Linked DNA regions of Homo sapiens: region 2 is linked to region 1. Evidence: promoter capture Hi-C in 16 types of primary human blood cells and fetal thymus (Javierre and others, 2016). All regions are on one chromosome and are shown on one strand. The core of a region is centred on a gene start or on the middle of the fragment in contact, and the rest is flanking DNA. Distances in the headings are between cores, read along the strand shown.

Region 1 (5,763 bases), core at 2,408-4,907:
CGCCACCACCGTCGCGGCCGCCGCCGCCGCCGCCTGGGGCTCCCGCCTCCCGGAGCGCCCGGCCCGACCGAGCTCAGCGCGCGGAGCCCCCCGCCCGGGCCGAGGAGGGGACGGCGCAGGAGGAAGGAAGAGGCAGCGGCGGCCGCGGCGGCAGCAGCAGCAGCAATGAAGGCGTCCGCGGGACTCCCCGCCCCCCGCGCACCGCGGCACGTGCTCGCCCGGGGACTCCCCCGCCCGGGAGGGCGCACACGTGCGGCCCCGCCGAGCCCCGCCGGCCCGGCCGGGCCCCGGGCCGGGCGAGAGGGGGGTGGTTCCCGCGGAGGGGAGGGGTCGGGTGGGCGGCCTGCGAGCGGCTTGGGGCAGGCTCCGGCCCGGCCGCCGCTTCTCTGCACCTGCAGTGGCTCCCACCCACGCGGTCGGCCCTCCCGGGAGGCGGCCGCCCCCTTCGGGTTGGCCACCCTCGCCCTCCGGCGGGGCTGCAGCCGGGGCCGGCGAGGCGGGGTGGGGCACGCGGACCTTCCAGCCTAGGCCCTCGGCCGAGCCTCGCTCGGTGTCCCCACTTCCTGCCACTCCCTGCGGGCCAGATCTGTCCGGGACAGCCCCGGCGCCCCCGGGAGGCCTGAGCGCCGGGCCCGACTGACCCCCCTGTCCCAGCTGCCGCTGGCTCATTCCGAGGCAGGACAATGGGGGACATCGCGCGTTTGCGTACCGAGTCAGCCTGGCCGGCAAGAAGGGGTTGCTCGGGGGCAGAGGCTAAGGGCACCCTCGCAGGGGTCACGGCCGAATGCCCTGTCCAGGTGGACCCCACGGCCCTGCCATCACCAGCCTCCCCCGCGCCGCGCTCGATTCTTTCGCGTCGAAAACAAAGACTAATCCGATACCCCCGCCCTGCCTCCCAGAGGAGGGGGAACGGGCGCGTCGCGGAGGGTAACTGAGGAGGACAGCGTTCAGGAGGGCCTCGGACAGCCTCGAGGGGGCCGTGGGGCGACTAAGCCCTAAAACCCGGCGCAGACACTTTGAAGAGTCACCCTGGGCTACGTTCCAGGCAGGGGGTAAGGGGCAGGGCTCAGGAATATTTCCAAGTTGCCAAACTGCCCGTTCTCTCTGCTGCTTTTTTCCCTCACCTGTTGTGCAGGCCAAGTTGAAATTCCAGGTTAGATTAATTCAGCCCCACCCATCTGGCCTGACTGCCAGGCTGGTGCCTGCAACTGCCTTCCACCTACCTCGGTTGCAGGGGAGCAGGGTGGGTCTCTGACATACACGCGCACACACACACTCGGGCGAGTCCTGGCAGAAACAGCCACAGGACGGACTGGCCTGACCAGTTTGGGCGGTGCTCACGGAGCCAGGTACCTGGCAGGCGTCGCCGCCCGGCTGCAGCTAACAGCTTAGCCAGAACTGGAAAAAGAGCATTCGGCCGGCTATTTAGAAAGAAAGAAAAAAAAGTAACTGATCTGAAGTAGCGCTGTCCAGAAAGCCCTAGGCGGTAAAGCAGCCCGGGTTCTATCTGGAACTTCCCTCTGATTTTGACAGCCTGCTCCAGGGTCCAGGTTGTCAGCGAGGGAGTGGGTGGGGGTGAACATGGCTGCAATATCCACTTCCTACCATGGCCTTTGGGAGGACTGAAGAGTTTCTGTTCAGGGTAGTAAGACTAGAACCGAGACGAAAAACCAAGAGAGTGCAATTTTCAAACAGGGGAACAGGTTGCAGACTCGTAATTGTTTTTAATGTAATATATTTTTAATAAGCAACTTTATTAATAAAAAATGTGTATAAAGAAGACGTGGAGACTACAGATACTAGAGGGGAAAAATCACCAAATTACAACCATATTTAACCATTTGCTATATTTCCTTGTAGCCTTTCCTATTTGTGGATTTACTCACACTGATTATACAATTTGCCATCCTCTTTTAACTTAACATTGTACCATAGGCATTTCCCTGTTTGGTATACAGTTTTCAGAAAGTGTGACAGTGAGGTGAAGAAGATGGCTCAGGAGCCAGAGAACTCTGGCTTCCAAACCTGAATCTGCCACTTGGTAACAGTGTGACCTTGGACTAGGTACTCCATCTTCAAGGGAATCCAAGTAAAAGACTTAATATAGGGCTCAATGAATGACAACAACTAATATTGTTTAATCCATATGACAACCTTGTGAGGTAGGTACTATCATCAAACCCATTTTATGGATAAGAAAACAGATTAAATAACTTGCCCAGGATCACTCAGCTAGTAAGTTGTGGACTTTCAGAGGAGCCCAGCAGCCATCCTCTTGTATTCTGTCTGGGTAAATGGCACCAGCAAGTTACTGTGTCATTTACTCTTTGCCAGCAATCTATGAGAGGGTCATTTCATAAAGCCCTCTCGTTTAGGTAACTGGGTGAATGCTGGTGCCATTCACTGTGACAAAATGCAGAAGGAAGGATGCCTGGGGATGGAGACATTCGTGTGAAAGTGAGTGTGCAACTGAGGGGGTGAGGCCTGGGTTTGAGATTTGGGCCCCATCAGTGAGCAGACAGCGAGGCCTCAGTTGTGGAGGAGCTCATCCAGGGTGGATATGGAGTGTGAGAGGGAAAGGCTGCCAGGACAGAGCCCCAGGGAATACCAGCCCATGAGGGACAGGAGCTGAGAAGGCGCCGCCAGAGAGGTTGGAGGGAACCCAGCCAGGCTAGAGAGCTGCCTGTCATATCTTCCCGGCCTCTGGAACCTTACACTTCGGCAGTCCTGTTGCTCATTCCTTCTGCCTGGGGAAAAACCCTTCCCACCCCACCCCTTCTCAGCTACCCCTTGTACCTGCCAAATTCCCACTCATCCTGCAAGTCATAAGTGCCAGTTCCATGAAACCTCCAGCTGCTCAGATGATTCCAGAGCCCCACCCACTCTCCCTCCACAGAAGTTTGACTCTCCCTGCCTAGGAACAGTTATCTCATCGGCGCTGGGCACTGGAATGGTTTGCATGTTTCTTTCCCAGTTACTACAAACTCCTGGAAGGGTAGCACGCTGTCTTTCACCTCATAACCCTAGACCTAGCAACCAACCACTGTGTTGAATGAAGAGACGAGGTGAGTAGACCCTAATGAATGACAGACCCCAGTAACACTGAAGACCCATAGGCTTCTTTCCTGCTTTCTTTACGACTTGCACAAACTGGTCAGGGGCGCCCAAGATAAAACAGCCTAAACTCCTCAGGTCCTGCCTTCTGGTTCTCCAGCCTCCTGGGCTGCTGCGGCTATTCCCATTCACATTGCGCTCAGGGCAGGAGAGCAGCGGGGGTGGGCGTAGGGATAGGGCGAGCCCTTCCTGGGGCTGCATTAGCCTAGACGCAGTGGTTCCGCCAAGAGAGCCCCGGCACCAGCAGCATCACCATCTCCTGGGAACTGGCTAGAAATGCAAGCTCTCGGCCCCATCCTAACCCCACTGAATCAGAAACCCTGGGGGCGGGCCCAGCAATCTGTTTTAATTAGTCCGTCAGGTGAAGTCAAGTTAGAGCAGCACTGGACTACAGCAAGCGGGGGAGAAGGAAGTTCAGCACCCAGGTGGAGACTGCGATTAGGCCCCCAAGGCGCTTAGAGCAGACAGAGGGAGAGAGGCTCCTTTTAGGAGCGGGTTTGGCGGGCGCCACCCCAAGCGGCCAAGGGCGGAGCCTCTTTTAGGCGACTGCTCCCGCGAGGTCAGAGCCGGGCTGTGCCGCTGCCCCCGGGACTAGAAAGGGAAATCTCCTTGCTAGAGGAGGAAGCCCTAAGAACTCAAGGGAGATAGGGGTGGCAGGGGCATTTCCCTGGATGCCTGGAGCATGGAGGGTGCGAAATAAGGAGGCTTTCCTACCCCATTGATGAGCTGAAGTTGATTCCGCACGGGGGAGGAAAGGGACAGGAAGCATAATTGGATGTGCAAGCCTGTGGTTCTTCAGGAAGTTAACACGTGGAACTAACACTGTTGGATGCTGCTGAACTCTCAGGTGATTGATGTGACTAACCTCCTCAGGTACTTGACCTCTCTCCTCTTCAGCTAATGAGTAATTTGTCCTTATTTAAGAATGAGATTTGCGTATGGGGACCTTTTGCAGAAATGTAAATACATCCCGATATCCATACCTGGGCTTGGTTTTAAAGACTGAAGGTATTGGGAGGTTTATTTGATTTTGGATGTATTACTTCTTTGGTCATGTATTGGCTAAAAATATTATCAACTAATATTTGCATAGATCTTTCCCTTTTCAAAGCACTTCCACACACATTATCCTTCTGTCTGCACAGAGTGGCAAATACAACAAATGTGCAAATGTTAACTTTCCTTATCTATGACATAGTTTTTATTATCATCACCATTTTACAGATAAGAGAACTGGCGCTCAGTGAGGTAATTTGTCCAAGGTCATTCACTACTACATGTCAGAATCCAGGACCTACAATCCAGGACCTCTGAAATTAGCCCACGAATGCTAGAGCTGATACCAGGCAGAAGCTGGCATTTTGCTCTCAGGGAAAGGGAGGTTCATTAGTGGGTTGCTTGTGGACCTGCATTGGTGAGTGTGACACGTGTAGGATATCTATGCTATGCGTTTTTGGGTTTTTTGTTTTGTTTTGGTTTTGGGTTTTGGTTTTTTTTTTTTCTTTGAGATGGAGTCTCACTCTTGTCACCCAGGCTGAAGTGCAGTGGCGCGATCTGGGCTCACTGTAACCTCTGCTGCCCAGGTTCAAATGATTCTCCTGCCTCAGACTCTCGAGTAGCTGGGATTACAGGCACCTGCCACCGCGCCCAGCTAATTTTTGTAGTTTTAGTAGAGACTGGTCTTGAACTCCTGACCTCATGATCCACCCACCTCGACCTCCCAAACTGCTGGGATTACATGAGTGAGCCACCGCGCCCGGCTACTACGTTTTTCAATAGCCCCGCAAATGTCCTCATGTTTTATAACTAGTTTTGTGACTGCATTTTGAATTTTTTGAATCAAATAGGCTTCATTACTTGCAAGGAGAATGCAAGGGTACCCATCATAATGGAAGGAATACCCAACAGGGATAAAGGCCTTGGTGCCCCTGAGCCTTGGTTGACAGGGTGTATCAGTCAGGATCAGTTAGATTGTGCTGGAGTAATAGACAATCCCCAAATCACAGTGGCTTTACATAACAAAAGTGTATTTCTCAATCACAAAACGTGTCCATTATGAGTCATTAGGAGCTCTGTTTCCCGTAATCACTCGGGCATCCAGGCTGCTGCAACTGGACATGCATCTCCTCAACCCTGAAGGCAGGAAACAAGAATGGGGCAAATCTAGCACTGGCTCTTAAAGCTTTTCCCTGGAAGTGACACACATCACTCCTGCTGTCATCTCACTGGCCAAAGAAAGTTACAAGGGGGCAGGGAAGTGCAATAAGTACAATCCTGCTATGTGCAGGAAGGATAAGCAGAAGTATTTGGTTAACAGCACTAACACACAGGGAGTGTGTGTGAGTGTGTGAATGTATATGTGTATATTTGAGGTATGTGCAATTACACATACTGCCCATTTCCAGAGCATTCCTCCCTCCTGGCGACACATATTAGAGATTCCTAGTGTAAAGGACTGTCTTACCTTGCACTAGAGCAGGTTCAGAGATTTAAACTAAAGCGAAAAAAAATAAGAGTTGAAGGAAACATAGTAGAAGAGGTGAGTGGCTGTGGGACAAACTCAGTAGAAATTCGTTTGTAAATAGAGAAAGAAATCCAGGAAAGGAAGGTACTCAGGGTGTATGACACAAGGAGCCTGCCTACTAAAGG
Region 2 (5,763 bases), core at 1,619-4,118, 130 kb before region 1:
TTTTTGGTTACATGGATAAGTTCTTTAGTGGTGATTTCTGAGATTTTAGTGCACCTATCACCCAAGCTGTGTACACTGTACCCAATATGTAGTATTTTATCCCTTATCCTCCTTCCAGCCCTCCCCCCCGAGTCCCCAAGGTCCATTATATCACTTTTATGCCTTTCTGTCCTCATAGCTTAGCTCCCACTTATAAGCCAGCACCATTTGTTCAAAAGATTGTCCTTTCCCCAGTGAGTATTCTTGGCATCTTTGCCAACAATCAGTTGTCTGTAAGTATGTGGATTAGTTTCTGGGTTCTCTATTCTGTTCCATTAGTCTTTGTGTCTATTTTTATGCCAGTACCATGCTGTTTTGGTTATTACAGTTTTTTAGTATATTTTGAGGCCTGATAGTGTGATACCTCCAGATTTGTTCTTTTTGCTCAGGATTGCTTTGGCTATTTGAGGTCTCTTGTAGTTTCATACAAATTTTAGGATTTTTTTTTCTATTTCTGTGAAGAATGTCATTGGTATTTTGATAGGGATTGCATTAAATATGTAGCTTGCTTTGGGTAGTATTATTATGTTAATAATATGAATTTTTCCAAATCTGCGAGCATGGGATGTCTTTCCATTTGTTTGTATCCTCTTCAATATCTTTCATCAGTGTTTTGTAGTTTTCCTTGTAGACATCTTTCACCTCCTTGGTTAAATTTATTCTTAGGTATTTTATTTTATTTTTTGGTAGCTACTGTAAATGGGATTGCTTTCTTGATTTCTTTTTCAGCTAAGTTTGTTGTACATGTATGGAAATAACTGCTGATTTGTGTATGTAATTTTTTTTTTTATCCTGCAACTTTACTGAATTTATCAGTTTTAAGAGTTCTTTGGTAGAGTCTTTAGGTTTTTATATATATGTGATCCTGTCATCTACAAACAGGGACAATTTGACTTCCTCCTTTTCCATTTGGATGCCTTTTATTTCAAGTTCTTGCCTAATTGCTCTGGGTAGGACTTCTAGTACTACGTTGAATAAGAGTAATGAGAGTGGACATTCTTTTTTTTTGACGGAGTCTCACACTGTCACCCAGGCTGGAGTACAGTGGCGTGATCTCCGCTTACTGCAACCTCCACGTCCCGGGTTCAAGTGATTCTCCTGCCTCAGCCTCCCGAGTAGCTGGGATTAGAGGCATGTGCCACCATGCCCGGCTAATTTTTTGTATTTTTAGTAGAGACAGGGTTTCACCATGTTGGCCAGGCTGGTCTCGAACTACCTCGTGATCTGCCTGCCTCGGCCTCCCAAAGTGCTGGGATTATAGGTGTGAGCCACTGCGCCTGGCCATTCTTGTCTTGTTCCAGTTCTCAGAGGAAAAGCTTTCAGCTTTTCTCCATTCAGTAAGATGTTAACTGTGGGTTTTTTTTTTTTTTTTTTTTTTTTTTTTTGAGACGGAGTCTCACTCTGTAGCCCAGGCTGGAGTGCAGTGGTGAGATTTGCACTCACTGCAACTTCTGCCTCTCGGGTCCCATATCAAGCAGTTCTCCTGCCTCAGCCTCTCGAGTAGCTGGGATTACAGGAACGCACCACCTTGCCCAGCTAATTTTTGTATTTTTGGTAGAGACGGGCTTTCACCGTGTTGGCCAGGCTGGTCTTGAACTTCTGACCTCATGATCCATCCACCTCAGCCTCCCAAAGTGCTGGAATTATAGGCGTGAGCCACTGCACCCAGCCTGCTGTGGGTATTTTTAATCTTTTTGAAAGTAGATTGTAGTCACTGTCTAATCTCTTGTATTTCTTGCAAAGCACTCATTACTAGTCTTTGAGTTCTTAATATTTGTTTTTTAAAATAATTTTAAAAAATTTTATACCCTTAGATCTGCATATTGTTTTTTATGTAGTAAAACTTTTTATTTGGCTTTAGATAACTTGGTTAACTTGGTTTCCTGTTTATTTACTTCCTTGAGTATAATTTTGCTGATGTTTTGGTTCTTATTGATAATTTTCTTTATTTGGAGCGGTTTTATAGTTTATGTAAATGTTTTAATGGATTTCAAAAGGAGTTAGTTTCTTACAGATACTTTAAAAGCAAATAAGTAAATAAAAGGAGTGGGTTCTTGGTGGTATTACTGGCATTACCATCAGAAGACCCTTCATATTTGAGAGGCCACATGGGGAGGTGCACCAAGGAGATAATCAGATAAAAGACACCAAATGGCCTGCAGTGTTACTAAAGATGCAAGCTGGGGCCAAGTCCTGTGGGGCCCTGCGGCAAAGTTAAAATGTGTCTTATCCTGAGAGCTGTATCAAATGGGGAGTATCGAGGAGTATTACAGGGAAATAGTATCATCTGATTTGGTTTTTAGAAAGATTATCTGAGTAAGGAGATTGGCTTTGGTAAGCTGGGCAGGGAGATCAAATGGGGGCTAGAATTGAAGTCTTTCAAATAACAATACCTGTTGAAGATGCTCTGAAGAGCCAAAGTCTTCCTGTGGAGCCACTTTGTTGCAACCTGTGCCTCTTGTGCCCATAGACCCACAGACTCAGGTCATGCCCTAAGCTTTAGGTAGGTAGATTCCCACCAGTGAGGACAATGTCCCTTGGGTTTGTGGGTCTTAAGGTACAGAAGAAACAGGGGTATATTTGGATAGGGCACAAACTTTGGCACCAAATACACCTGGGTTGATTCTGGGCTCTGCCATTTCCTAGCTGGATGGTCTTGAGCAAGCCATTCAACCTTTCTGAAGGGTCTCACATTTAGACCAAGATATGAGAGGCCTCTGCCCTGGGTCCCCAGCTTTAGAGGGCTATACTGTGGTCCTTGTCCAACATGCCTCTGTCCATATCAGGGAGGAGTCCATATCTGTAATTAAGGCTTACACATGGTAGTCTGTATGAATGGTGTTCCCCAGAGTTGTGCAGTGCATAGCCTGTATGACTGTACAATGTGGGTTGCTAATAAAAGTAGCAAAGAGAAGCAGGATTGAGAATGCTGAGGATGTAGAATCTAGACTTGGCAGGTGTCAGGATATGACTGGGAGAATAGGAAATTTGGTGGAGAGTTGAGAGGTCAGTTTTGGTTAAGACTTTGACCTTACCAAAGAGCCACCCAGAGCTATCCAGCAGCCCAAACTCATGAGGCTAGACATGGCTTTGGAAATCATTGGCATTAGGGTCATAGTTGAGGCCTGGTGGCTGAACAAGTCCTTTGAAGGAAAGCTTATAGTCTGTGGAGAAGACTGAGTCGATTCTTTTGGGGGCATTTGTGTTTAAAGGACAAGAGGTCACAAAGGGGCTCATGAAAGGGGGCAGGGTCCTGGGACAATGGAATGTTCCTGGCTATGCAGTCCGGGAGCAGAGGGTTTCCAGGGCTTCACAGAGGTCAGTGAGGATGAGGATCCCTGGCTCAGAAGCTGACTATTTCTGGAGAAATAAAGGTACAGGTGAGTGAGTGGTATGGACCTTCAAGCTAGGAGGTTGTCTACACCTGCAGATATGTGGTGGTGATAGGAAGGAGTGGGAAAGGTCTATGAGGCACAGCAGGGTCAGGCTGGGGTGAACCTGAGAGCACGTGATGGGGAGAAGCCACAGAAAAGGGTTAATGGATGAAGCATGTTCCACAGGAGCAGCACAGGGTGCACATGGAGAGTGAGAGTCAGGGGTACCGAGCAGCAGGGGTGTGTGTACAGTAAAGAGGACAAACATACAGGAAGATGGTTTGAAGTGTGGTGAGGGAAATTGGGCAGGCTCCCTGGGCCTGGGGTTGGGCTTCTCAGTAGAGGAAAGCAGGCCTCTGCTAAGACCTCTGGAGTGGGGATGAGGTGCTGGGGGGTATCTAGAATTTAACAAAGCTTTGTCTTTCACGTCTTCTATGTTGTGTTCATGGCTCTGACAAGAATGTACACTGGATTATGTGTGTCGAACATGTTTTTAGGGCTTCATGTCCCCTTGCAGGGACATGATGTATGTATGGATGCACCATCCCATGGACATGGGACGTTGAATGCCCATTATTTTCAGAGTACAATGGGAGACAAAGATGACTAACAGCTCTCCAAGCTTAAGAAGCTTACAAGAGCATCAGAACACACAACAAAGTTGCTGACCAAGTTGTGTAGCTGGGTTGGGTAAACCAATATTTGACAAAATTAAGATTCAAAATAGGCAGGGAGAGTGGGTTAAACAGTTCATTTAAGATGGCTACATTTCAACTGCTGTGTGAAGCATTAAAAAAAAAAATTGCACGCAGACTTGAGTTAGTGGACCTGATTTGGCAAAAGTTCACTGAAGAGGTCACTATGTGGTCCCAAGACTAGTCTTGGATTCCTTAGTGATCTAAAGCTTTGCATATGTCAAGAGTAATAATGATAGCTCTTATTACTTGCTATGTCCCGAATGCCTGGCACTTTCACTTCTGTAGCAATTTTTTTATCCTTATATCTTATGTGGTATCATTAGCCTGTCTTATTGACAAAATGACACAGGGAGATGAAACCCTCATCAAATCACACAATTGGGAAGTGAGGGATCTATGTTCTTTCCAAGCCACAAGCCGCTGCTTAAAAAGCTAATAAACCTTGGTGTACACTCATAAAAATAGTGTGTCCAGATCGTGGGGCTCCTTGGTGTCTTTGTGCTTGGCTTGCATGAGCCGGATCCCATCTGGAACAAATTGCTCATTTCTAGAGATCCCAATATGAATAATGATGCTCTAGGTGTGAACAGACGGGGGCACGGTGGGGAGTAGTGGTGGACAGGGCCTGGACCTGTTACAAGAAGGTTTATGGAATTAAGAATGTAGTCACGTGGCAGAGGGGAATTTACTGCAACGCTTCTCAGCGTAGAAAGAAATAGACTGAGTGGGATTTACATGGAGGCACATTTAGATTAGTTCAATTTATAATTGCAACAACTTGGGATGTTAAAGAGTTTGGTGATACAGGGATGATTAAATGCTTCTGTATCCATACTAAAAACATTGCTAGGCAACTATTTAAAAAGATGCTATTCTGCATACTGATAAAGATAGTTTAAGTGCAAAAAGATTACAAGATTGTATTATTGTATTCCATTTGAAAAAATACATATGGGTCGTATTTACACACTCAAAATGTTTGCAACCAATATGCGGTTCTCTCGTGGTGGGATTTCAGATAACTTTTAAGAACTTCTGTCTTCTAATTTTCTATATTTAACATGGAACTTGTATAAGAAGAGATGGCAGCATATTTATAGCTAACCAATAGTGAAACCAGCCCCAGCTGAAGGAGGAATGTCCTGGCCCTCCCTTCAGGCTCTGCAGATGGATCCATCATGACAGGCGCTCAGGAAGGGGACAGAACTAGGTCTCTTCCAACTCAAGGAGGAAAGCAGGTTACAAAACACAGTGTGACCCCACTTTTGTAAAACATATAAACATGTTTGAGGATCCCTGGATAGCCAGGTGTGCCAAGGCATTTCCAGTGGGTTCCTTTGCAAGCAAAGTAAAATGGAGATAAAAACCTCCAAGCCGATCACCTGGCACTCATTATGATCATGGTATTTTCACTCAGATGCCCTCAGAGATGAACTTTCCCACCTAGAGTGACTTGGGATGTTGGGATATTGCTGAAGTCCTTATCAACAGCTGGGCTGGTTGTCCCTCAAAGACACTGGATCAATTTCAGTCAGATGTTTCATGCAGGAGGAAGGAGGAAGAGCAAGCAGATTCACTATTCTCTCTCCTCCTTCCTCAATTCATATTCCCTTTTCAAGAACAGCCACCTCCAGAATTGGCAATTTGAATTA

Evidence for each region. The method cuts DNA at HindIII sites, captures the fragments that hold promoters and counts their contacts. A CHiCAGO score of 5 or more calls a contact.
Region 2: a contact is called between a fragment that was not itself captured here and the fragment with the promoter of DGUOK-AS1 in region 1, in 1 of 17 cell types (erythroblasts). The highest score is 5.1, in erythroblasts.

Annotation. Positions count from the first base shown.
Region 1 is chr2:73,979,333-73,985,095 of GRCh38, reverse strand. It overlaps DGUOK-AS1 (DGUOK antisense RNA 1), which reads left to right and starts at 3,657. Exons shown (of 2, transcript NR_104030.1): 1 at 3,657-3,961. It overlaps TET3 (tet methylcytosine dioxygenase 3), which reads right to left and starts at 186. Exons shown (of 12, transcript NM_001287491.2): 1 at 1-186. RefSeq lists silencers at 67-265, 24-713 and an enhancer at 887-1,810. The HindIII fragment of the contact is 8,489 bases long and covers 1-5,298 here.
Region 2 is chr2:74,108,668-74,114,430 of GRCh38, reverse strand. It overlaps a transcript of TET3 not described here. Among named protein-coding and RNA genes, the nearest start is that of BOLA3, 36 kb to the left of the region's middle. The HindIII fragment of the contact is 659 bases long and covers 2,539-3,197 here.